4 separate regions of the Homo sapiens genome follow, and all the other regions are linked to region 1. Evidence: promoter capture Hi-C in 16 types of primary human blood cells and fetal thymus (Javierre and others, 2016). All regions are on one chromosome and are shown on one strand. Each heading gives the region's core, a stretch centred on a gene start or on the middle of the fragment in contact. The rest is flanking DNA. Distances are from core to core; before and after follow the strand shown. Region 1 holds the start of NFIA-AS1 (NFIA antisense RNA 1). Region 2 has its middle 9.4 kb from the start of NFIA. Region 3 overlaps NFIA (nuclear factor I A). Region 4 has its middle 49 kb from the start of NFIA-AS2.

Region 1 (5,746 bases), core at 381-2,880:
CTGACAGAAACAGAGCTCTACAAACTTTCTGGCGACCTCCCAGGAAAACAGAAGGAAGCTGTATCCTGTACTTCCCCTGGGATCTAATGAAATATACAGCCTCTGGGCTTCTTTCAATTTGGACTTTCAGATCGCTAAGCCAGTGAAAAGGGGATCCTAGCTGTCACAAACGTCACATGGTCAGGGTCACCTGCTGCTCGGGGGTTCTCATGCCAGTTGTTGACATAATAAGCCCCCCTTACACTTTAATTACAATTCACAGTGTGCAAACTATGCAATCTGCTTTAAGGCAGACTGTCTTTTAAATCAACACTAAAATTCTACTACTAATATGGCAATGCAATGTAGCAGAGGAAGGGTGTGTCCACATGACTAACTATATGCAGATATCTGCCGTTTGGGAGACAGTGGGTAGCATTTGCCAAAATATAAAATGGTGTTGCTGACCCCAATTCTGGGAGATGGTACTTGAATCTTACTGTGCTCTGAGACTTCTTTCCATAGGCCACAAAAAGGTAATGCAATATACTTCATGTGTAGCATTTTACATTTGTATAACTACTATTTTTTTTCACATGGCTCCATAACTGTTCTATGTACTAATCTTGCCTATCCAACAGAAGGAGTGTTGAAGAACAGTGAATTTCTACTTCCCTATTTCTTCCCCTTTAAACCTAGGGCAGTGCCAGTGATGTTTAACACATGCTTCTAGAGTTGTGTCAATGCTCTATCATTTACTGGATCCTTGTATTTTGCTAACTACAGACCTGTGTAAGCTATATTTTTGCAATCAAAACATGAAAGGTCATTTTAAAACAGAGCCCATTTAAAATGATATGACAATGCAGGGAGCTGTTTAAAAAGTGCTAACACATAATTATAGTCTACAGTTTTCTCCAAAAACAACAGTGGAAATTAGTTACAATTCTATTACAGACAACTGCTATAAACTTAGGTGGGCTAACCTCTGAATGAACTATCCCAGTACTCTGGGAATTGCAATCTCATTTTCAGTGCCACAAATGACGTAAGATGGAACACACAAAACAAACCCACACAAAGTACTTTATGTTTATGAAGTCTTACTCAAACACCTTAGCTGAGCTAACCAGTATGTCTCACTGTAAAACACCACCACCACCAGTAACAACAAAATAAATAATCAAACAAAATAGAAGAAATCCAAATAGAAAAAAAAAGTTTTAAAAATAATAATGCCTATACTTGCTTTAATGAAGGATGTACCTGAATTACAAATGCCATCATGACAGATTAAATTAGCCAATAATTAGTCACTGCTTTATTTTTTTTTAGTGTCAAACAATGGTAGATACCAAGACAAGTAACAACAAAAGGCAAAAGAGTTTATTTTATTTAGACGTGGTCATTCTAACATAAGGAGAAGATGCATTTTCCTTTCAAAAATTGAGGTCTCTTTGGGCAAACTTTCAGTCCTTTGGCTATTAGGGTTTGTCTTCATGAAGGCAGACATAAAGCAATTCTGTTCTCTTCCTTATTTGAACACTTTCAGTCTTCACCTGGCTCTCTGCCACCCCAGCTAAACCACTTGACCTCTGATTACATAACAGTCCCCATCTGTGAGCTCAGCCATCCTCAGGAGATAGGAGGGGCCATGAGAAGCTCAAGTTCACCATGAGCCACAGCAGTAAGCCATGCTTTAGCCTCTGACCTGTGCTCCAATTTTGGTACAATGATTTCTGCCATGTTCTCCAACAGGTAAGCTCTACCTCAAGGACTAACTTCTGTACCTGTATTTGGTCAAGTGCCCTAGCTCATCTGGAACTGGAGATGTTGACTTGCTTTTCCCTACCTGCCTCCCAAGAACAAAATTCTGGCACGGAAACCCAGGCTAGCACGTGGAGCCCTATGACCCACTGACAGACTTCTCTGACACTAACCTTCTGCCTGGATTACTGTCATCTGCTTATGTTCTCTATTTCTTGGTTCTGTCCAACTTTTGGGACATTGAACTGCCAGTTAGACTTCCATGTTGTATAACACTCCACTAAGCTTACCAGCCAGTGCCTATACTCAGAGCATTTGGAACATGGCTGGACTGAACTTCTTTATGGAACTTCAAAACTACCAATCCCAGAATATCAACCTTCACGTAATTTCAGGTCCTGGCCCTTTACACATCTCATCCCAAGATATAAACTCTATCTGCCAATTCCCTTTTTTTCCCTTGGTAGGTAGGAAACAAAACATCTCTAAAACTCTGTAAAGAGTAGGAATACAAAATAGAATAGAAGTTACCTTATCCAGTACTGTTAGGGCCAGTTGTTGATTGGTTAATTTGAAAAAATGGATGAAGAAGATACTCATTAATGAGACATATGCACCTTAAACATTTTAACTTTGAGCATGTGTATGTACATTCTTTGGCCAATCTTTTTATGCAGAGGCAAAAATTTAAATTTAATAATGTCTGTTAATAATTGGAGCTCCACAGCATCTTTCTTATATAATGCGTATCTATAATGCATCATAAAAGATTTCCAGTTCCATTTACTTTAAGTAGTGGGAGAATTTAAAGATATTTCTAAAATAATCTAACAAAACTCTTATTTTTACAACCTTCTCTCATCTTCTGTAGTTATCTCACTGACATGTAATCTGACAGAAATTTTTGTAGCTTGCCTTTACTGATTCTTTCCAAGGCACTGGGTTAGTTTCATAGAAATAAAACTTTTCCATTTTGAACTTGCATGCCATTGGTTCACATAAATTTAATTAAATTACACAATGGTGATACAAATAAGACTAGTATAAACAGGTCCGGAATAACACAACTGACGTGGTAAGCACACAACTGGTAAAAACAATAGTGCTAGGATGTGGTAGTAGGTAACTGTTGGCCATGAAAATTCAACATGCCAAAGGAATCAGTATATTACAAAGAAAACAAAAAGTCTTGGTTCATCTTGCAAGCTGGTTAATACAGAGTTTCTACTATGAGGGTCTATCCAAAGAAAATATAATCCAAATATACATTGAATGGATATTGTGAGTAGGAATTGATGTTTGATGCATAATGCTTGATGCTGTGATACAATGTTGAAAAAGACATCTTTCCCAGCATTCTGGTATAGCTCTAATTTCTAATATCAAAAAGTAATTAGAAATAATTATAAGAAACTCCTCATTGGAGTTACTGTATTTTAAATGGTAACTGAATTGATACCTCTATCTACCTGCTGTAGGAGGCTTAATATTCAAGTTGATCTAAATATATTTAAAGAACACGAAAAATAGTCAGCTTACCTCCTAATACAGTATTTTCAAATTCTGAACTCTATTTATATTTTTGTTATTTTGTATCGTTACTTCTGTTTTCATTAAATACATGATTGCTGAAGCAGTTTTTAAAATTAGAGGCACTGTGTTAATACAAAAAATCAACTGCCATTTTAACATCACGTAGTCTGACAACTGAAAACAATCACATAACAGTCATAATTTTTCAGTATTTTATGATTTTTCAGGTTATGTAACTATCAGTTTTCACGTGATTGTACTTAAGATCAATCTTTTAGCAATAAGAAGCCTTAATCTCAACCTTCTGCTTTTTATCAGTTTACTTATTATCAGCTTCAAAATAAATGTATGACATAATTGTGTTACATATATGACAATAATGATGGTCACAGTAACAGCTAGCATTTATTGAATGTCTAGCAATAAAAATAAAGTGATTTATATATACATAACTTTCCCAGCAACTTTTGCAAAGTAAACATTACCATCTTCATTTCAGGGTGAGGAAACAGACAGCACTAAGAGAAAAAGCTGGAACTCAAAACCAAATTAACTCCAAACTTAAGTTTTCCCACTTCGACAAGGTGTGTGTATGTACGTAGTAAAGAGATCACGGAGTTCCCTTTCCAGTGAAATTTTTATTTGTACGGATGCATGTGTATGTAGGCATATGCGCACACAAACACACACATACACTTTAGTTAAATCAATTTCATATGCAAAAGAAAAGTGAGCCAGGGCTAAGTTATTAAAAGAAGCCTTTGAAGCAGAGAGTGATGATGTGTGAAAGACATACAACAAAAGTTTATTTAAACAAAGAACAAGCACAGAGGGATGGGACAAAAGTGAAAATAAGAGAAATGAAGGCTCTCCATCTTTTTTCTGTGTCTATGGATTTCTCATACATAGAAAAACAAAACAGTAAGAAAGAGATGTATGCAGTTTATGGAATATCCAAAAGTAAAATTAGTTTCAGCTAGGGCCCAGATGAACTCAACTCCACACTGATTTTTCAACAAAGTTTTTCTATGTGAAACACAATCATGTTATCCTGTAGTAAAGTCCTTGATATTAAACATAATTTCTTACTTCTAAGAAAAAACTCGAGCTATGATTTTAATAAATATTTTTATAGTATCTTTTTCAATGTCATGTTATGAAAGCAAAATTTTCAAGTAGGCTTCAGAAAAGAGATAGAGCCTTTTTACTTTCATTCATTATGCTCTGTAGAACATTTCAATATCCAGTGTACATTTCAACAGGCACTAAATTGGCCCATAATTTTCTTACAATTCAAATTTTTGTCTGGTCATCTTAATTAAAAGTGAAAAATTTGGCCAATCATACAGAAATTATATTCATGACACATACCATGTAGATCATATGGAAGTGGCATGGTACTTGTAAAAATAAACATTCCTCTTTTAGCAAAACAAAGAGCAACATTTACATTGCTCTTGGGGAGCAGAACAAAAAGAGAGGCCAAAAAGTTGCAATGGAGAAAGGTCTTCCAATCTAAAGTGAAAACTAATTTTGTCTGCTTGCATTTAAGTAGACATTATAAAAGTCTTACAGAGACGCCATGCTTACAGAAGGCATTATTGCCTTTGAATATAAATGAAAGCACATTTCTAGCACTTATATTATTACAAATATTGAAAATGGCCTCCAGAAGCTTTTAGCAATGTACGCTTTGTCTTGTTTCCAAAGAAGCAATCCAATTAAAATGATCATTTTCAGCATAGAGGACTAGGACAATGAACCGTACCTTGCACCCAGCATCTCAGAAATACTTTGGGGAAAAATTTATGGAAAATAGATTTGAAACTTCCATATGCTTTCTGTGCACTTTTACTAACCAAGCATAATTTACCAATATTTTCCTAGAAAAGGAACTGCATGTGTTTTTCTGCCTCTTGCAGTAAGTATCCATCCATGATTATTCCAACCCATACCATGTTTGCTTCCTTGAATTCACTATGTCACAGTGTATCTTGTGTACTCAAACTGTCAGCAGGAACATGGTAACGAATATTATTCTTTTTTTCTTTTTTTTGAGATCAAGTCTCACTCTGTTGCCTAGGCTGGAATGCTGTGGCATGATCTTGGCTCACTGGCTCACTGCAACCTCCGCCTCCCGGGTTCAAGCAATTCTTGTGCCTCAGCCTCCTGAGCAACTGGGACTACCGGCGACTGCCACCGCGCCCAGCTAATTTTTGTATTTTTAGTAGAGATGGGGTTTCACCAGAGTTTGAGGCCAGGCTAGTGTCAAACTCCTGACCTCAAGTGATCTACCCGCCTCGGCCTCCGAAAGTGCTGGGATCCACCTGCCTTGGCCTCTGAAAGTGCTTGGATTATAGGCGTGAGCCACCGCATCTGGCCATTATTCATTTTTGATACATTCCTTCCACCTCCCCCATCTAATAGCAAATACCCATGTTAAGCGTAAAGAAGACACTTAAAAAAC
Region 2 (5,944 bases), core at 2,376-4,875, 180 kb after region 1:
CTGCGGTTTTCGTTGTTGTTTTTAAAAATGTGATTGCTGGCTGGGCACGGTCGCTCACGCCTGTAATCCCAACACTTTGGGAGGCCGAGGTGGGCGGATCACAAGGTCAGGAGATCGAGACCATCCTGCCCAACATGGTGAAACCCCGTCTCTACCAAAATTACAAAAATTAGCCGGGTGTGGTGGCGCGTGCCTGTAATCCCAGTTACTTGGGAGGCTGAGGCACGAGAATCGCTTGAACCCAGCAGGCGGAGGTTGCAGTGAGCCAAGATCACACCACTGCACTCCAGCCTGGTGACAGAGCGAGACTCTGTCTCAAAAAAAAAAAATTGTGTTTGCTTTGAGTCAGTTAAGGAGCATAGGACATTTTGCTGAATAACTTAGAGGAAAACGTGTGCTTACCTGGCTTGATTAAAAGTATCCAGTAAGAAGTCAAGAGTAATAGGAAGCAACCTGGCAGTTGTCTGATTTTCTTAACTGTCCTTGGTGAAGGTACCTAATTAATTAATAACAGGACCTTGCATAGTTAAATTGGAGGTTAGAGAAACCTCATATTTTATGTTGAATCACATTTTTTGCTTCGGTCTTGCTCTCTACAACTAGTCGACTGATGTAGCCGTACTGTGGCTGGCCTTGGCATTAGCTTTGCTGTTCTGGTCTGCCCCTCATAGATGCAGATATGCTCTTGGCTGTAGCAAGCCTGTGGCATTTAATCCTAGCCTCCTCCACTGAGCATCCATTTCCACTTGGTGTACTACTCTCACCTAGAAATACACTTGATGTGATGTAGCGGCTTCAGTTTAAATAAAAAATAATACTTTGGGAGGCCGAGGCAGGTGGATCACCAGGTCAGGATCTCGAGACCAGCCTGGCCAACATGGTGAAACCCCGTCTCTACTAAAAATACAATAATAATAATAATAACAATTTTTTTAAGTAACCAAAAAAAAAAGTTTTGGGCCTGGTTTAGCTGGTACTAGACTGTGTGACCTTGAGATGGTTACATAACACCTGTAAAACAAGACATCAACCTATTGTGAGAGTGGAAGGTTTTGTCAAAAGGTAAGAACCGTTGAGATGCAGAAGAGGTGTCAACCTGTACTGCATTGCTCTGTAGATACTATGGTCTGAATAATCTCTGATGCTAAGCAGGCCAGGCCTTGTAAGTAGGTGGTAACAGTGAATTTTGTGTGCATTGTCTGTAGTGCATTAACTCAGTTTGATATGGTAGGTTGGCACCATTTCCAAAGTGACCTTTTATATCTCCATCTAGTCAACAACAACATAGCATTGACAACATAGCATTGGCTTCAGAGTCCAACTTAGGTTTTTTTTTTTGGACAGAGTTTTTGCTCTTGTTGCCCAGGCTGGAGTGCAGTGCTGCGATCTCGGCTCACTGCAACCTCTGCCTCCTGGGTTCAAGTGATTCTCCTGCCTCAGCCTCCTCAGTAGTTGGGACTACAGGCACCCGCCACCATGCCTGGCTAATTTTTGTATTTTTAATAGAGACCGGGTTTCACCATGTTGGGCAGGATGGTCTCAATCTCCTGACCTTGTGATCCGCCCACCTCGGCCTCCCAAAGTGCTGGGATTACAGGTGTGAACCACCAAGCCTGGCCTCAACTTAGGTTTTAATGTTGGTTCTACCATGTGTATTTTTTTTTTTTTCAGGCAAAACCTCTGCAAGCTTTAGATTTCTGATCTGGAAAATGGGAGATAGATAACATATGTAAATTAACTAGTACATTATGTGTGCTCAATATAGGCTCATTGAAGGTGCTAAGAGCTAGGGATACAGCAAAGAATGAGACATTATCCCTGCCTCTAACAAGCTTTCAGTGCAATGGGGTAGATAAGACATAAAGCTAACTAATAGTGTAATGTAATAAGCGTTATGTCCAACATATATATATATATATATATACACACATATATATGTATAAAATGGGCAGTGGTGATAGAATGATTCATTTTGTCTGGGTCATTAAGGCAGAGACAGTCATTAAGGCCTAAAAAAGAGACATTTGTGTTGGGACAGAAATATGCATTAGTCAGGTAGACAGGTGAGGGGCAGGGCATTCCTCTCCAGGAAAACGCAATGATGTCAGTGTATGCAACAGGCCAAAGAATGGGGATGTATTCAATTGTGGCTAGTTGTCTAGTTAGGATTAGCTTGTATAGTCATGTGTCACTTCATGACAGGGATACATTCTGAGAAATACGTTGTTAGGCGATTTAGTCGTTGTAAGAACATCGTAGAGTATACTTGCAGAAACCTAGATGGTATAACCTTATACACACCTAGGCTATGTGGTATAGCTTATTGCTCCTAGGCTCAGCTCTGTACAGCAGGTTACTCTACTGAATATTATAGGCTACTGTAACACAATGGTAAGCATTCCTATATCTAAACATAGAAAAGGTACAATAAAAATACAGTATTATATAATCTTATAGGACCACCATTGTATCTGTGGTCTCTCATTGACTGAAACGTCCTTAGGCGGCACTGGACAGTATTACTGTAACTAGAGATGACCTTAGAAAGGCAGGCAGAGCCAAGGTGGTGGAGAGCATTGTGAACCCTTTGAACCTTCACTGGAGGGGCTGTATTTAACCAAGAGATATACAAAATAAGATTTACAAATTAGAAATATCATTCTAGTAGTGGAGGCAAAGAGAGTGGTTAGAAAGATATGAGAAAAGATGCAGTCCTGAGCTATGGCACCGCTGGAATGAATGAGAAAAAGAGAGAAAGGGAAGAAGGAGTAGAGCATGAAAGAGAGGTAAGGAAACAAGGAAGACCCTCCGCTGATACTGGTTTTCGGGGACTTTGATCAACAGAGGCAATTTAGGAGTAAATTTTTCCCAGACTCTTCTCAAAATTCAAATAGCCAGAAGATGTATAATAAGATCTGTTAGTGAAATAGGCTCTACTTACTCCACAAATTGCTGCTTCTAATATCCTTAAACCTAATATTAAATAATATTAAAATAATACCAGTAATAGTAGTTCACATGGCTTAAACGTTTACACTACATCAATTCTTCCCACCTTTGTGAATTTGCATTCCAGTAACCTTGGCTCCACCATGCCACTGGAAATCAGGTGCAAATCTAGTAGGGTGAATTTGGGTTGCTAACCCCATTGAGAGCCTCATGTTTCTGTGTAGGTTGGCTTTATGCCTTGAAAATAGTAGGCTCTTCCAGGAATTTTGCTTTGTTGACCCAAATAAAAACTTAATCCTCTTGCAAGACATTGATATGGAAACTAGAATGTTAGAGTTTTACAGAATTAGAAACATAATTCAAAATTGCAATATTTTTCTAATAATCAACTTAAGTTTTAATTTGTGAACGAAGTTGAATGTTGACACACAGAGATATATTTCACATTTTCTTGATTTGCCTGTATAAATCCTAGATCATTCAAATCACTTTTTAGACAAAGTAATCAACACAGGCATTCAAAGGACACACATTGCAATATAAATGATAAACACTACAAGCGAAATTAATCTAGGAATTGATGAGGTTCCCAAATAAGCAAGTTGTGGCAGACTATTGCCTCCCCACTCCCAAATCTGTTCTTTCTCTATTCTTAGATACACAGATGAGCTATTTAAAGTCAATATTAGGCTGAGCACAGTGGCTCACACCTGTAATCCCAGCACTTTGGGAGGCCAAAGCAGGCAGCTCGCTTGAGGCCAGGTGTTCGGGATCAGCCTGGCCAACATGGTGAAACCCCATCTCCACTAACAATACAAACATTCTCTGGGTTTGGTGGCACACATCTGTAGTCCCAGCTACTCAGGAGGCTGAGGCAGTAGAATCGCTTGAACCTGGGAGGCGGAGGTGCAGTGAGCTGAGATCATGCCATTGCACTCCCGCCTGAGCAAAGGAGCGAGACTCCAGCTCAAAAAAAAAAAAAAAAAAAAAAAAGTTCCTCAAGAGAGTTTGATCCCTCCCTACCATGTTTGAGAACCAATCCTATTAAAATAAAATCCTAATAAAATAAAAATAAAGTTAATATTTCCTAGCCTTCCTTGCAACTAAATATGACACATGATTAAGTTCTGTGAGCAGAATTGTTGGCTGCAACTTCATGACACTTGCTTAAAAGAAATTTGTCCTGGGCCAGGCATAGTGGCTCATGCCTATAACCCCAGCCTTTTCAAAGGCCAAGGCAGGAGGATCACTTGAGCCACAGGAGTTCAAGACAAGTCTGGGCAACATAGATAGACTTTGTCTCTGCAAAAAATAAAAATAAAAAATTTAGCTGGGCATGATGCCACACATCTGTAGTCCCTGATACTCAGGAGGCTGAGGCAGGAGATTGCTTGAGCCCTGGAGATTGAGGCTGCAGTGAGCTATGATCACACTACTGCATTCCAGCCTGGGCAATAAGAGTGAGATCCTGTCACAAAAAAAAAAAAAAAGGAAAGAAAGAAAGAGAGAAAGAGGAGAAAGAAGATAAAGAGGAGAAAGAAATGAGTGAAGGAGGGAAGGAGAAAAGGAAAAGGAAGGAAAGGAAGGAAGGGAGAAAGGTGGTGGGGAGCAGCAAGGGGAGAGAGAGAAGAAAGAGAAAGAAAGGAAAGAGAGAAAGAGAGAGAGAGAAAGGAAAGAAAGAAAGAAAGAGAGAAAAGAAAGAAAAGAAAGAAAGAAAGATAGATTTGTCCTGAACTTGTGGCCCTTTCCAAAGACAGCAATGATACTGAAATACCAACTTCAACTACAAAGACCCGGACAATTCCCTGGGAGACAAAAGAGCTACGGGATGAAAGGAACCTGCGTTCCTAAATAACCTCCTGGAGCAGAGCCGCTTCTCCAGCATAGATTATATTTAGGCTACCGTAGTTGTGTTTTTTTTAAGCTACAGTGTTTTCAGGTCTCCGATACAGCAGCCTAATCTTCTCTATAACTAATAATCAAGATTACAAAACAATCTCATGGTATATTTGAATTGTTTTCTCTCTGAAATCTCATGGCCTTTCTCCAATTTGGTATATAATATATCTAATTTTTTTATCAGCCTACTTTTCCAGACTCCCCTCCTGCTCAGTCTCTCTCGGCTGCCTCCTCATCCTAGCCACAAAAAATGACTGAGTTTTCCCTTTTTATCACCTCCCAAATATACCATACATGTTCATCCCTCTTTTTCCTTGTTTGTATGATTCTTTTTGCCCAGAAGACCCTGAAGTTGTCTCCCTGTTTCACCCATTTTCTCAAGGACCAATTTAATGTTGTTTCCCAACTCCCATAGGCGGAATTGGTCAATCTCCTCTGTGTTCTCTAACATCTTACACTCATCTAAGACCGCTCTCTTCACATTCTACATCAGTTATTTATTTGTGTGTCTGTCCACTGAGCTATGGGCTTCTTGAAAATGCAGTTATTTTATTCATCCTTGAAAGCTTATAAGCAAAGTGCCACAGTAGATCTTCAGTAAATGTTTGGTGAATTAATATGTAAATGACAGGAACAATGGTTACTTTTTCTAGACTTGCGTTCTGATAGAAAACAAGGTCAGGAGTATGGCTAATGCAAGACAGGGCATTATCACAAGGGTGGAATTGTCAGTATAACTAGCAGGGCATTGAATTTGCCTTTCACAGGCCTTCCACACAGGTCATCACCTTTAACCTTCCTACTGCATAAGTGGCTTAGACTTTGTCATTCCCATCACAAAAATGAAGAAACTAAGGCTCAGAAAACTATGGGGAGTTTGTTACTCAAAGTCATTCTCTTAATGAGTAGTTAAATAGAATATTTAATTCATTTAGAATTGCTCCCCAAAGCTCTCGCCATTGTATCTGCCTTAGGAAAGGCTTCAGGATTCAGTTTTTTAAAATACAATGTTGATGGTTAGCTGGCTGTAATCATAATCAAAGGTAAGCATATGGTCGCATCCTTCTTATCTTCGACACACCACAATAAACTGCAG
Region 3 (6,478 bases), core at 2,692-5,191, 150 kb after region 1:
AATACTGCAGACTCATAATTCTAACCTGAAATATTTAAAAATATATAGTATTATTGAAGGCTATTTATCATTAATGTGTTCAGTTTTATTCATATTATATGAAGTAAGGGAAAACTAAAGGAAACAGAATAAAGCTAAAACTTTTAAAATGCTATTCAAGATTACCAAAAAATAAGATAGGGAAAGAAGAAAAGGAGGGATATGGTTCTAAAGATTTAGTAGCAAAAACAGAGAGATTTTCAAATTTTTTAAGCTTTCATTATTTGGAAATAAGACTCTGAAAGGAAACATCAAATATTGCTAAAATCATCAAGTAAATTGTGAGATTTGTATACAGATGGCTTATTTAATATGAAGCAACATGGTTTTCTCTTTCTCTGAAGGAACTGAACTGCTAATATCTCATGAACTATATCAAGTTCGCTTCATGTCTCTTACTGACTGTTAGACAAAGAAATCTGTCTTGAATTTCATGATGTCCTACATGTTACTGTGACTAATCCCCAACCATTTTTATTTACAGTGTTCAGAATGAGTTTCTATGACAATCCCATGCCATTTCTTAAATGTTACAAACACATTTTCTGCTTTTTAAAAATAATTATGGAACAAATAATTTGTTCTGTGCTCTATACAAAGAAAAGCACACGTATTAATGAATGGAGAAACAGATTTCACTTTCAGATTGAACAACCAGCAGATATAACAGAGAATAACAACAAATCCAATATATATTGGGCCACCAGATTTTTCTTGTTGTTATTTCATTTATCAGCCAAGCAATAGTTCTCTCATATTTTCTATCACCATCCACACACATTGTCCCATTAATCCACTAACACATGCTCACACTTATAAGACCCCTTACATGCTTTCTGTCTGAATGTAGTATGTATCTCTTTTCTTTTAATAAAAGAGAGAAAAAAAGGCAAATCAGCTTGACACTTCTGACAACTTAAAATCCACTTCAGCGTAAAAGTCTCGAGACTGCTAACTTTTTTCCAAGAAGGAGCAAAATAGGGAATTTAGGTGGCTATGCTACTGGGACTTGGCTGTGTTTTAGGAACTGCCAAATGAATTCACTACCGCCTGCTCTCCAAGGCCTTCGCTTCCTTTCTGTTTTCTACTCTCTCGTTCTCCTGCTGTTTCATTTTCCTATAACGCTATTTGTTTTATATTTCAGCATTACTAGAAGGATGCCCTTTAAAAAAAATAGAACTTTTCTGTGCACAACCAGCTTTCTTTAGAGAAAACATGCTATGGTGGCGAACTACTTTTTTTTTTTTTTTTTTTGAGATGGAGTTTCACTCTTGTTGCCCAGGCTGGAGTGCAATGGCGCGATCTCAGCTCACTACAACCTTTGCCTCCCGGGTTCAAGCGATTCTCCTGCCTCGGCCTCCCGAGTAGCTGGGATCGCAGGCATGCACCACCACACCCGGCTAATTTTGTATTTTCAGTAGAGACGGAGTTTCTCCATATTTGTCAGGCTGATCTCGAACTCCCGACCTCAGGTGATGTGCCTGCCTCAGCCTCCCAAAGTGCCGGGATTACAGGCATGAGCCACTGTGCCTGGCCAGGTGAACTATTAAATAATAGAAAGCACCTGCACCATCTTCTGTCTGCTTGAATTTTCTTTACATTTACAAAAATATTTTTGATATAAGAAAACAAAAAATTTAACACAATAGAAATATAGTCAAACGATAGAATTCCTCGACATATACCAATTTTATGGTAAAAAAAAAAAAAGCAATGTTAACAACTGGTTCTACAAATGTTTAAAACTTCATATAGGCCAGGTTTGGCAGCTCATACTTAGAATCTCAGAACTTTGAGAGGCTGAGGTGGGAGGATCACTGGAAGCTGGGAGTTCAGTGACCAGCCTGGGCAATGTAGTGAGACTCTATCTCCACAAAATATTTTTTTAAGTTAGCCCAGGGTGTTGGGATTCACCTTTAGTCCCAGCTACTTAGGAGGCTGAAGTAGGAGGATTGTGTGGGCCCAGAAGTTTGAGGCAGCAGTGAGCTACGACTGCACCACTGCACTCCAGCTAGGCAACAGAGCAAGACCCTGTCTCAAAATAATAATAATCACCATAAATTTTTTATAAGTGTTTTAAAAACTTCATACAGGCTATTAGTTGAAAGGACTCTAATTTAAAAACATCAAATGCTCTAAAATCTTGATTTCTGAGGAAATTATATCTGAGATGGCACTGACTTGTCTCAAGGTATTTTCTTCAGTTTTGCATCTCGGGAATCTATCACAGTGCCTAAGATTAGTGCTGGAAACCTATCTGCTGAACTGAACTGCCAGTCACACAGTAGAGCTTGTCAATAAAGGTAACCAAAACAGATCTTCTATGCCACCACCACCCAAAGAGCATCCGCACCGATGGAAATGATAACGGTCTACAACTGCTCTCCAACTCACACAAGAAGTTCCCGTCTCCATAGTTTCCGAGATGCATGGACTTAGAATCCTCAAATGTAAAAAAGAAGGTTTGGGCCTTAAGGTTCCCTTCAAGGTAGGAAGCTGAAACTAACACCAGAAAAGAAAAAGCTCTAGTTTCTCACTACTTTTTCAACTACTTTCTAAACAGAGAAAACAATGGCTTTCAGAGTGTTGATGTATTTGCAGAGAATATTTTTCACTCCATCCATAGTTTCAAGTCTAACATACTGGGGATCATCTTAGAGATAAAAACAGGCCATAGAAGGGTCTGGCCTAGTTACTAATCCTAACCACTTATTAACCATATAACCCTGGACAAGTTACTCAACCTCTCTGGCTGTTTCCTCACTGGCATAAAGGGAACCATAAAAGCTCCCCTACCTAAAATTTGAAGTTTATATGAAGGGCTAATTTAAAAACACATAAGAAAAGATAATTTAAATAATATAGTTTTAGGGCAAAAGTCTGGGATCTAAGGGAGTTGGCTTAAATGCTGGCTTTGCCTCTTAACTGTTGGTGTGGCCTCAAGTGAGATGCTCTCTGAACGTCTATTTCCCAAATAACAGGAGTAAGCCACAACGAAGGTCATCTACAATCTCTACTTCTCCAACACCGCCCAACATGAAAAATTCTCCAAAACTTGGAAAAGTTAAAAAGGACCAAAAAATTTTTTTAAAAAATGCAAAACCAAAGAAACTCACATCCACAATTTAGAAAATCCAACAAAGCAAATCCTAAGAAATGGTACCCAGATAGGCAACCTCCTTGAATTGCCAAAAGAGTTTAAAGAGTTGGTAATCGAATGCTCTATCACAAAGCAAAATGAATGGTTAATGCTGCTCTGTCCTGAGTTTTAGACTGGGTGACTTGATAGTAAAAAGCCCAAAAATATGAATCTATGTTCCTCTCCAATCTGTCTGTTTCCCTCCAATTCTAATGTCTCAAAACACAGCTTCACTTATTCATCGTCCCCACCCCACTCCAGCACCTCCAAGATTCAACCGCACATAAAGTAAAAAGCTATGCATAATCAGTCTTTATACAGCCAAACTGAAAATGTCTTTCTTTGAAGAATTACAAAGCTTTCTGTCTGAAACCTCTGACCTTTCTAGAGAAATCAGAGTTACTGTAGTTTAAAAATGTAGGTGGTAAAAGTACAAAGGATTACATTTATCCATTTTGCATGTTTGTCGTCTTTTCTGGGGCCAGGGGCAAATATCTTTAGAACAATTAGTTCTTCAACCATAACATTTTGGACTGAAATATCCTCATTCTCCAAAGAACTGTGTATACATATATATATATGGTTACACAGACATAGAACTGTGTGTGTGTATTACTACATATCCTGGATCCAATGAGATGGCACTTTTTTGTTAATTTTTGTTCCCACTTCATTTTACTGAAACTCTAAAATACATTAATTTTAAAACCTTTTTTAAACGTAAGATTTTTGTCTATACAGTAAGCTAAGAAATCAATAAAAGTTCATTTAAATATTTTTTTAAAACTGTAGTTACTGATTGAATGTGGGAAAAGGAGAGACTTCTAAAAGTATGTTAAGAAAAGAATTCTTAATAAAAGTCCTTGTCACATATTAAGAGGCCATACAATAAAAGTACTGCAATGACTATCTTTCCCTGACAGGAATGCACAACAATAGTTACGCTGTTGAACAGCATCGTTACAAAGACTTCATTCTCAGAAGTTACTTGAAACTACTCTCCAAAAGAGAACCTCTACCATTTAAAAGAAGAGGGGGAGGAAAGCCAACTAAATGAATCCATCAGAAACTTTAGTAACTTAGTAATTTTTATATGGTGTGCATCCATCCAAAAAAATCTTGTCATAGTCATATAAAGACGCAAAATTTCTTATGCAAATAAGCTTTTGCCAAGTTCTTATCTAGAATCTTTGCTTCATTTCAAACACTGGTAACCCACTTATCGTTAGTTCTCAATTATCTAATGTTGAAAATATGTTCTCAGGTACACAGTTTTCCATCAGCAACATGTTAATGTGTAATATTATTTATGAGTTACATTCAGCATAAAAGATATTTACAATTGTCATTGTTAATCTGCTATTATATCTGAGCCTGCACAACTCTGTTTAATAGTATGCAACAGGGGTTTACATGCAGATACACAATATCTTAATTACTTATTCTATAGTAAGCTCTTTAAGCATCTCCATCCCTCATTCATTTGGAATGTTAAAAAATGCCACGAAGAAGGGCTTGATGTCATCTCAACACTGAAAGCCATCTGTCTATGGCCCTCCTTTGACTTTACTCCTTCTGCAGCCAACATTTTCATAAAAGTTGATGAGAATTTGTCAACCTAAGGACTTGTCATGTCAGCTCCTTTGAAAGGCAATGGAATATTTGAAAGTGACAATGATGGGACCCTGTATGTACAATATTCATTTTATGTAGGAGCTTAAAATTAAATAACTAATCCCTTTAAGATTAAACTACACAGAATTCTAAGTGCATCTGACAGGACAAAAGGAGAGAGGCAAGTACATATCACTGCAAAAGAGATGGTTCTGAATTTCTGATATTAAGTGACATGTCTGTAAATTTGAAAATTAAATGAAGATGGGTAATGTAACACTACAGTTTCTATTACCCACTGACAAATACCTTTCCCTACTAAAAATTACTACTCAGATCAAGCTATCTGACTCACCACAGATATATCTTCCCCAACAGCATGAATGCAATGTACTACCCAATCACTGGCTGGCAAAATTACAAAAGGAAATAAAATCAACCAAACCATAGCAACAAAGACAGCCTGAAAATGGCAGCTGCTACACAGACATTCATACAAATTTTTAAATAGTACAGTATTTTTTAAATGTTTCAATTTCGCCTCACTTTTTTTAACCTGTAGAGCACTACAGCAATAGCCATTTAAAAATTTATATGAATACACATGCTCTGAGAACTGTCTATGTCTGGAAACTCACAAGTTATTTGGGACCACCATAAGCACTTACCAGAGATATAAAAATACATACAGTATGGAACTAGATACAGTTGACAATAGGATATGAGTACTATTTTTTTAACCAATTTAATCACTTTTCTTCACATGCCTCAAACTCAGTTTTCCCTTTCTAGCATAACTGATGCTACACAACCCTAACTTTAAGATTCATTAATATTTCTTAAAAAGAAAGCTATTTTATTTTCTTTGCTGTAAGTTCAGTTCAGCTGCTTATTTTTAAATTAAACCTTAGAAGAATTAATATGTATAATGACTTAATATAGTATAAATTATACTTATTGGTCATCTTTTTCTATTTACAATTATAAAAATTATGTTGAGTGAGGCTTTGAGTTTTTGCACTGAAATCATTAAGAACTAATCTTGTCGCCAGGCGCGGTGGCTCACGCCTGTAATCCCAGCATTTTGAGAGGCCGAGGTGGGCAGATCACAAAGTCAGGAGTTCGAGTCCAGCCTCACCAAGATGGTGAAACCCCATCTCCACTCAAAATACAAAAATTAGCCTGGCGTGGTGGTGGGAGCCTGTAATCCCAGCTACTCAGGAGACTGAGGCAGGAGAATTGTTTGAACCCAGGAGGCAGAGGTTGCAGTGAGCCAAGATCATGCCATTGCACTCCAGCCTGGGTGACAGAGCAAGACTCCGTCTCAAAAAAAAAAAAAAAAAAAAAAAGAACTAATCTTGACTAAGTTTAAAGAGTTAGAAACAAAGCTCATGGCCAGGCGTGGTGGCTCATGCCTGTAATCCCAGCACTTTGGCAGGCCGAGGCAGGTGGAACACCTGAGGCCAGGAGTTCGAGACCAGCCTGACCAACATGGAGAAACCCTGTCTCTACTAAAAATTACATGCATGGGGGTGCATGCCTGTAATCACAGCTATTCGGGAGGCTGAGACAGGAGAATCGCTTGAACCAGGGAGGCAGAGATTGCGGTGAGCCGAGATCATGCCACTGCACTCCAGCCTAGAAAACAAGGGCTAAACTCCGTCTCAAACAACAACAACAACAAAA
Region 4 (5,838 bases), core at 609-3,108, 230 kb after region 1:
CTAGGAAAGATGGATAACTGACACTTTCAACAATGTTTATTTGCAAGAATGAACTACCTTGGCCAGGTGCGGTGGCTCACACCTGTAATCCCAGCACTTTGGGAGGCTGAGGTGGGCAGATTGCCTGAGGTCAGGAGTTCGAGACCAGACTGGCCAACATGGTAAAACCCGGTTTTTACTAAAAATACAAAAAAATTAGCCTGGCGTGGTGGAAGGTGCCTATAATCCCAGCTACTTGGGAGGCAGAGGCATGAGAATCGCTTGAATCTGGGAGGCAGAGGTTGCAGTGAAGTGAGATTGTGCCACTGCACTGCAGTCTGGGTGACAGAGCAAGACTCCGTGAGGAAGAAGGAGAAGGAGAAGAAGAAGAAGAAGAACAAAAGGGTAGCTAACATCTTCTAGGTGCTAACTAGAATTTCAGAATTGCTGGAAAAAGAAGTATCCTTGTAGGGAAGACCTAAATCTTGGAAACGACAGCTCAGGAGAGAAAATGCCATTGTCCTGTATTTAGCCGAGACAGCCTGGGATTTGTGGAGCAAGCTAGCTAGTGTCAAGGAGGCTGCAGGCACTGCACATTAAAAGGCATCTCCTCTTTGATGAGTGTTTAATTTGGCCTTGTAAAGTGTATGAAGTGCAGGCATTTAATTTGTTTGACAGAAGCAAGCCCAAAGCACCTTCTGTAATACCGTGCCACACGGTTTCATGACTCTTACCACATGTTAGGCATAGTCTGGGAGTCTATTAAATAAGCTTTGAGTCAAAACACTAGTTTGACAAAGATCTGTTTTAATTAAAAGACACAAACCTCTCTCTCCTGAGCCTCAAGCAGGGACATAAAGGAGAGCACCATCCACCCGCCTGGCTAAGGAACACTTTGCTCTTTCCTGTAAGAGGACAAAGATGCTTTGGGGCTGGCAGGTAGAAATCTATCAGTGGGTCCTGGAATGTCTGATGTTGCTGGCCTCCTGTAAGATTCTCTTTCTGCCAACAATGCTGGCTATCTGCCACAATATCAATTATCCCTAGCTGAGACAGTAAATGATCTAGGATACCACTTTTTAAATATTATGTTTTAACAAACTAGAATTAGGAAACTCTACAAAATTAATGCACTTTGACACCCCCTGCATCAATATCCAGATACTCATAAATCAACCATACCCATCAGGCTCTTCTGCCTCAAGCATGTTAAGTGACCATCTTTAAAAAATGTATTAAATATTTCTCCAATTGGAGTATTCTATATTTCCCTGTTATGGAGAATGCACACCTCTTGGAGAAGTGTGAGAGATGACAGAGTTGGCTATATCTAACTTGGAGTCCAAATCATGCCTCCTTTTTTTGGATTGTCCACCCTGACTTTCCATTTCTTCAGCAAAGGGCCCAAGCTTTCCTGTCCATCTCATCTCCTGCCACTTTCCCACTTGTTCTGTTCTCTACACTCCAGACACACTGGTCTTCTTGAGTTCCTCTATTATTTTATTTTATTGAGATAAAGTCTCGCTCTATTGCCCAGTCTGGAGTGCAGTGGTGTAATCTTGGCTCACTGCAACCTCCATCTCCCAGGCTCAAGTGATTCTCCCTCTTCAGCCTCCTGAGTACCTGGGACCATGGGCATGTGCCACTATGCCAGGCTAATTTTTGTATATATATTTTTTGAGACAGAGTCTTACTCTGTCACCAGGTTGGGTGCAGTGGCATGATCTCGGCTCACTGCAACCTCTGCCTCCCGGGTTCAAGTGATTCTCCTGCCTCAGCTTCCCAAGTAGCTGGGACCACAGGTGCATGCCATCATGCCCAGCTAATTTTTGTATTTTTAGTAGAGACAGGGTTTCAACATGTTGGCCAGGCTGGTCTTGAACTCCTGGGCTCAAGCAATCCACCCGCCTTGGCCTCCCAAAATGCTGGGATTATAGGCATGAGCCACTGTACCGGGCCTCTTGAGTTCTTTTAAGAGCTTTATGTGCTCTTCTGCCTCAGGACATTTAAAAAAGGCACCTGTCTACTGAGAAATCCCATCTGACTGCTAGCCCCTACACCCCCAAACACCTTCTACTGGTTTCTTTGTTCATTCATTCATTCATTCATTCATTCATTCAACAAGTATTACCGAGGGGCTGTATATGCAGAACACTTGAGTGAATGCAACTGATTTAAAAATTCTCATAGCATCTACATTCTAATTGAGGGGGAATCAGACCATAAATAAACATAATAAATAAGTAGATTATATAGTACATTAGAAGATGATAATTGATACAGAAAAACATAAATGGGTAAGGAGTATGCAAAATGCTTGCAATTTTAAATAGGATGGTAGGAAGCTTTTATTGATACTGTTGCATTTAAATTAATTCTCAATTGTCCTTAGACTTCAGCTCAAATGAGCTTTCTCAGGAACATCTTACCTTCCAGGATAGTTCTATCAGTGAGTCTGAGAGTGTGTGACTAGGTCATTCCCTATTATATGCTCTCAGCATTCCCAGTACTTTTCATTCATAGTTCTTAGTACCATTTGTAATTGCATACTCATGTGATTATTTATTAAAGAATGTCCTGTCTGCTACAGTAAGCTCTATGAAGGCAAGGGTGAGATACTTTTTGATTACTGCTCTCTCTCCAAAGCTAGTTGAATTGAAGTGCTCAATACATATTTGAATTGAATGAATGAAAGAACCTGTGCAGTATGGATAAAATATATACATCCAGACTACTTTAAGAGAATCAGTTGGGATGATGAATGCATGAATCCTTTTTATAAATTGCATAGTTCTATAAACATGCCAGGCATCATTATTTCTGTGGATAAAAAACACTCTTGTATTAACATGGTTCTGTTTATTGATGTTGTATGCTCCTGAATCTCCTTTATGGAGGCAGTGTGGTTTAGAGGACTGCCTGGGATAACTCAGCTCTGTCACTTACCTCGTGACCTCACTATTTCTCCAGCTCCTCCTCTATAAAATGGGATGATAATAGTACCAACCTCACAGAGATGTCATGAGGATTAGAAGAGTTAACGTCTCTCAGGTGCTTAGAGTAAGGACTGAATAGAGTAAGTACTCAGTACATATTATCATGATTACGGTTGTTGTTGTTATTATCTGCCAAGCTTTTAACTGCATCTAGGTATTTATTGATTGACTGAAATCTTTCTTGGTTTCTTCCTAAAGATGAGTGAACTAGAAATTCATTGTTCAGTGATGTTTCTTTAACATAAGTCAAAGAGTAAGGCTGACTCTCAGGCTCCATCTTATAGCTTCAGCACCTGTTCTAGTTCATCAGTGACTTCTGTTTTATCTTGGTGGATCCTTTTCAATTGTTTTGACAGCTAGAAGTTAAACTAGAGCCATGGATGACTGAGAAAACTAGGTTCAAATCCTGGTTCTGCCACTTACTGGTTGAAAGACTTTAGGCAAGGTATAAAACTCTTTGGGGTTCACACTTTCACTCATAAAATGAGAATTATAATAGCTCCTTCACTAGTTTGCAATGAGGATTGAGTGAGATGATATCCTTGAAGGGCCAGTGCAGAGAGAAGTTCTACAAATATTAGTTTAGTTCTGCTTACCTTGCCCTTTCCTCAGGAGCAAATGTAAATTTTAAAAGAAACCTGGAGACACAATGACATTGTGGTCTGCAAAGAAGTCTCTGACAAGCATTCTAAATCAGGGGGTTAAATTCAACACATGTGGAACCCACTATACATGCCCTAAAATAATTCATATTATTGGCAGAAATCAGTGCAAGAAGCACAGTGTTGGGCTGGGCACGGTGGCTCATGCTTGTAACCCCAGCACTTTGGGAGGCCAAGGTGGGCGGATCACCTGAGGTCGGGAGTTCGAGACCAGCCTGACCAATATGGAGAAACCCCATTTCTACTAAAAATACAAAATTCAGCCAGGCTTGGTGGCACATGCCTGTAATCCCAGCTACTCGGGATGCTCAGGCAGGAGAACTGCTTGAACGCAGGAGGCTGAGGTTGTGGTGAGCCACGATTGTGACATTGCACTCCAGCCTGGGAAACAAAAGCGAAACTCAGTCTCAAAAAAAAAAAAAAAAAAAAAAGGCACAGTGTTTATTTGTTGTTCTGTCATCCAGGGAAGAAGTTATTTTTGAAATATTCTTTTTATTACCAGAAATGTATCAATTTACATAGAACTAACTAATTAACCAGAAATACCAAACCAAATACATTTTGTGGATTGCAGAAAAATTTTACAAAACAACTTCTCCTTTGTTGACTAACAAATACTAGTTAGGAATAGTTGATGGCATAATAATCATAGGAGTTAAAAAGAATCTTCTTGAATTATTTGACGTTATTTTTTGATGCTTGTAATTAGGAATTGCCTAATTGTGTATGTATGTGTGTGATTGTGACAAAAATGAAAGTAATTCCAAAATGTCCCTTTCACATGCATGAAGACTCTAGACTTCCTTCTTTCCTCCCCTGGATCTTTTGCTAACCTTAGCTGATAATTTTCACCAATTGTTCACTTGCAAAATATGTTTTTCAATATATCACAGTTAAACCCTTCAAATTATGTTCCACTTCAAAAGACCTGGTTTCAGTTTCCAAATCTTCCTTTTCCCCATGTTTTGGGTTTTTGATCAACAAATGTTTATTGAGGTCCCACTGTGTAAGTGGCAGCCTCCCAGAATGGCTTTCCCAGTGCCCTTGGTGTTCCAGATGTTGGATAAATTGAAAATCCATGAATCTGAAGTTAAAGCAGAATTAAAATTATGTGTGAACATGAACTGAGTGCTTAGAGGACAACATGCTGTTCACCACTGGCAGCAACAGAATTGGGGGATTTATTTTCTACTTATTGGCTTAAAATGTGAAATTTAGATGTGAGGGGGCCTAGCCTACCTGTCCTTAGGGAATCTTAATGCCAAAGCTACTCATTTTAATTCATCTGACGTTTGTTTTTGCTTGGTGAATGCTCAGGCCACTCACTTGTTCTAGTTAGTGCCTTTGATAACATTTCATGGTCTGTAAAATAAAATTTGGCATTCAAGATTCTTCACTATGTTATTGCTGTGCATCTTTCCATTCCTATTTCCTTTTGCTCCTTTGCTGGCCCTTAATGGTCCAGCCAAAACATATTTCTTACTGTTCCTCCTCATTCACTGAGTACCTATTCTTGGCCAAGCACTGCTTCATTAACTTTAAAAAACATTTTATTCCCTCACATTTTCTGGGAAGGAATTATTGTTATCTACACCTTTTAGATGAAGACACTGAGGATTAGAGATGTCAAATGACTTGTTCAAATTCACGGGTTAGTACAGGAATGAGCTGTGATTTGAGCCCAGGTTTATAGTGGAAAAGGATCTTCCCATCATGCCATGATACCTCCTTCTCAAAATGCCCCAGCGCTGTCTCATCATGCACCCTTCTTCCATGTGGTGGCAGAATAATGCCCCTTCCTCAGAGATGTCTATGCCACAATCCCTGGAACCTGTGAGTATGTTACCTTACGTGGCAAAGGGGGATTAACTTTGCAAATGGAATTAAAGGAGAGGATCTTCGATTATGCAGCTGGGTCCAAAGCAATCAAAAGTGTCCTTAAAAGGGAAAGAAGGAGGCAGAAAGGTCAGAGAGGGAGATGTGACGAGAGAAGAATGGTTAGAGAGAAGCACCGTTGCTGGCTTTGAGGATGGGGAAGGGATCATGAATCAAGGGCTATGGGTGGTCTCCAGACACTGGAAAAGGCTGGGAATCAGATTCTCTTCTAGAGACTCTAGAAAGGGCTACAGCCGTGCCAACACCTTGGCCGGTGAGACCCATGTTAGATTTCTAGCCTACAGAAGGGTAAGATGATAAAGTTG

The links. The method cuts DNA at HindIII sites, captures the fragments that hold promoters and counts their contacts. A CHiCAGO score of 5 or more calls a contact.
Region 2: a contact is called between a fragment that was not itself captured here and the fragment with the promoter of NFIA-AS1 in region 1, in 1 of 17 cell types (monocytes). The highest score is 5.3, in monocytes.
Region 3: a contact is called between a fragment that was not itself captured here and the fragment with the promoter of NFIA-AS1 in region 1, in 1 of 17 cell types (erythroblasts). The highest score is 6.4, in erythroblasts.
Region 4: a contact is called between a fragment that was not itself captured here and the fragment with the promoter of NFIA-AS1 in region 1, in 1 of 17 cell types (total CD8 T cells). The highest score is 5.3, in total CD8 T cells.

Annotation. Positions count from the first base shown.
Region 1 is chr1:61,249,402-61,255,147 of GRCh38, reverse strand. NFIA-AS1 (NFIA antisense RNA 1) reads left to right here and starts at 1,630. Exons shown (of 4, transcript NR_104180.1): 1 at 1,630-1,737; 2 at 3,779-3,863; 3 at 5,167-5,200. All of the region lies in intron 2 of NFIA (nuclear factor I A), which reads right to left. RefSeq lists an enhancer at 4,430-4,931. The HindIII fragment of the contact is 2,782 bases long and covers 1-2,033 here.
Region 2 is chr1:61,070,236-61,076,179 of GRCh38, reverse strand. No RefSeq gene overlaps it. Among named protein-coding and RNA genes, the nearest start is that of NFIA, 9.4 kb to the left of the region's middle. The HindIII fragment of the contact is 3,582 bases long and covers 1,835-5,416 here.
Region 3 is chr1:61,096,211-61,102,688 of GRCh38, reverse strand. All of the region lies in intron 2 of NFIA (nuclear factor I A), which reads right to left. Among named protein-coding and RNA genes, the nearest start is that of NFIA, 17 kb to the right of the region's middle. The HindIII fragment of the contact is 805 bases long and covers 3,539-4,343 here.
Region 4 is chr1:61,016,427-61,022,264 of GRCh38, reverse strand. No RefSeq gene overlaps it. Among named protein-coding and RNA genes, the nearest start is that of NFIA-AS2, 49 kb to the right of the region's middle. The HindIII fragment of the contact is 936 bases long and covers 1,391-2,326 here.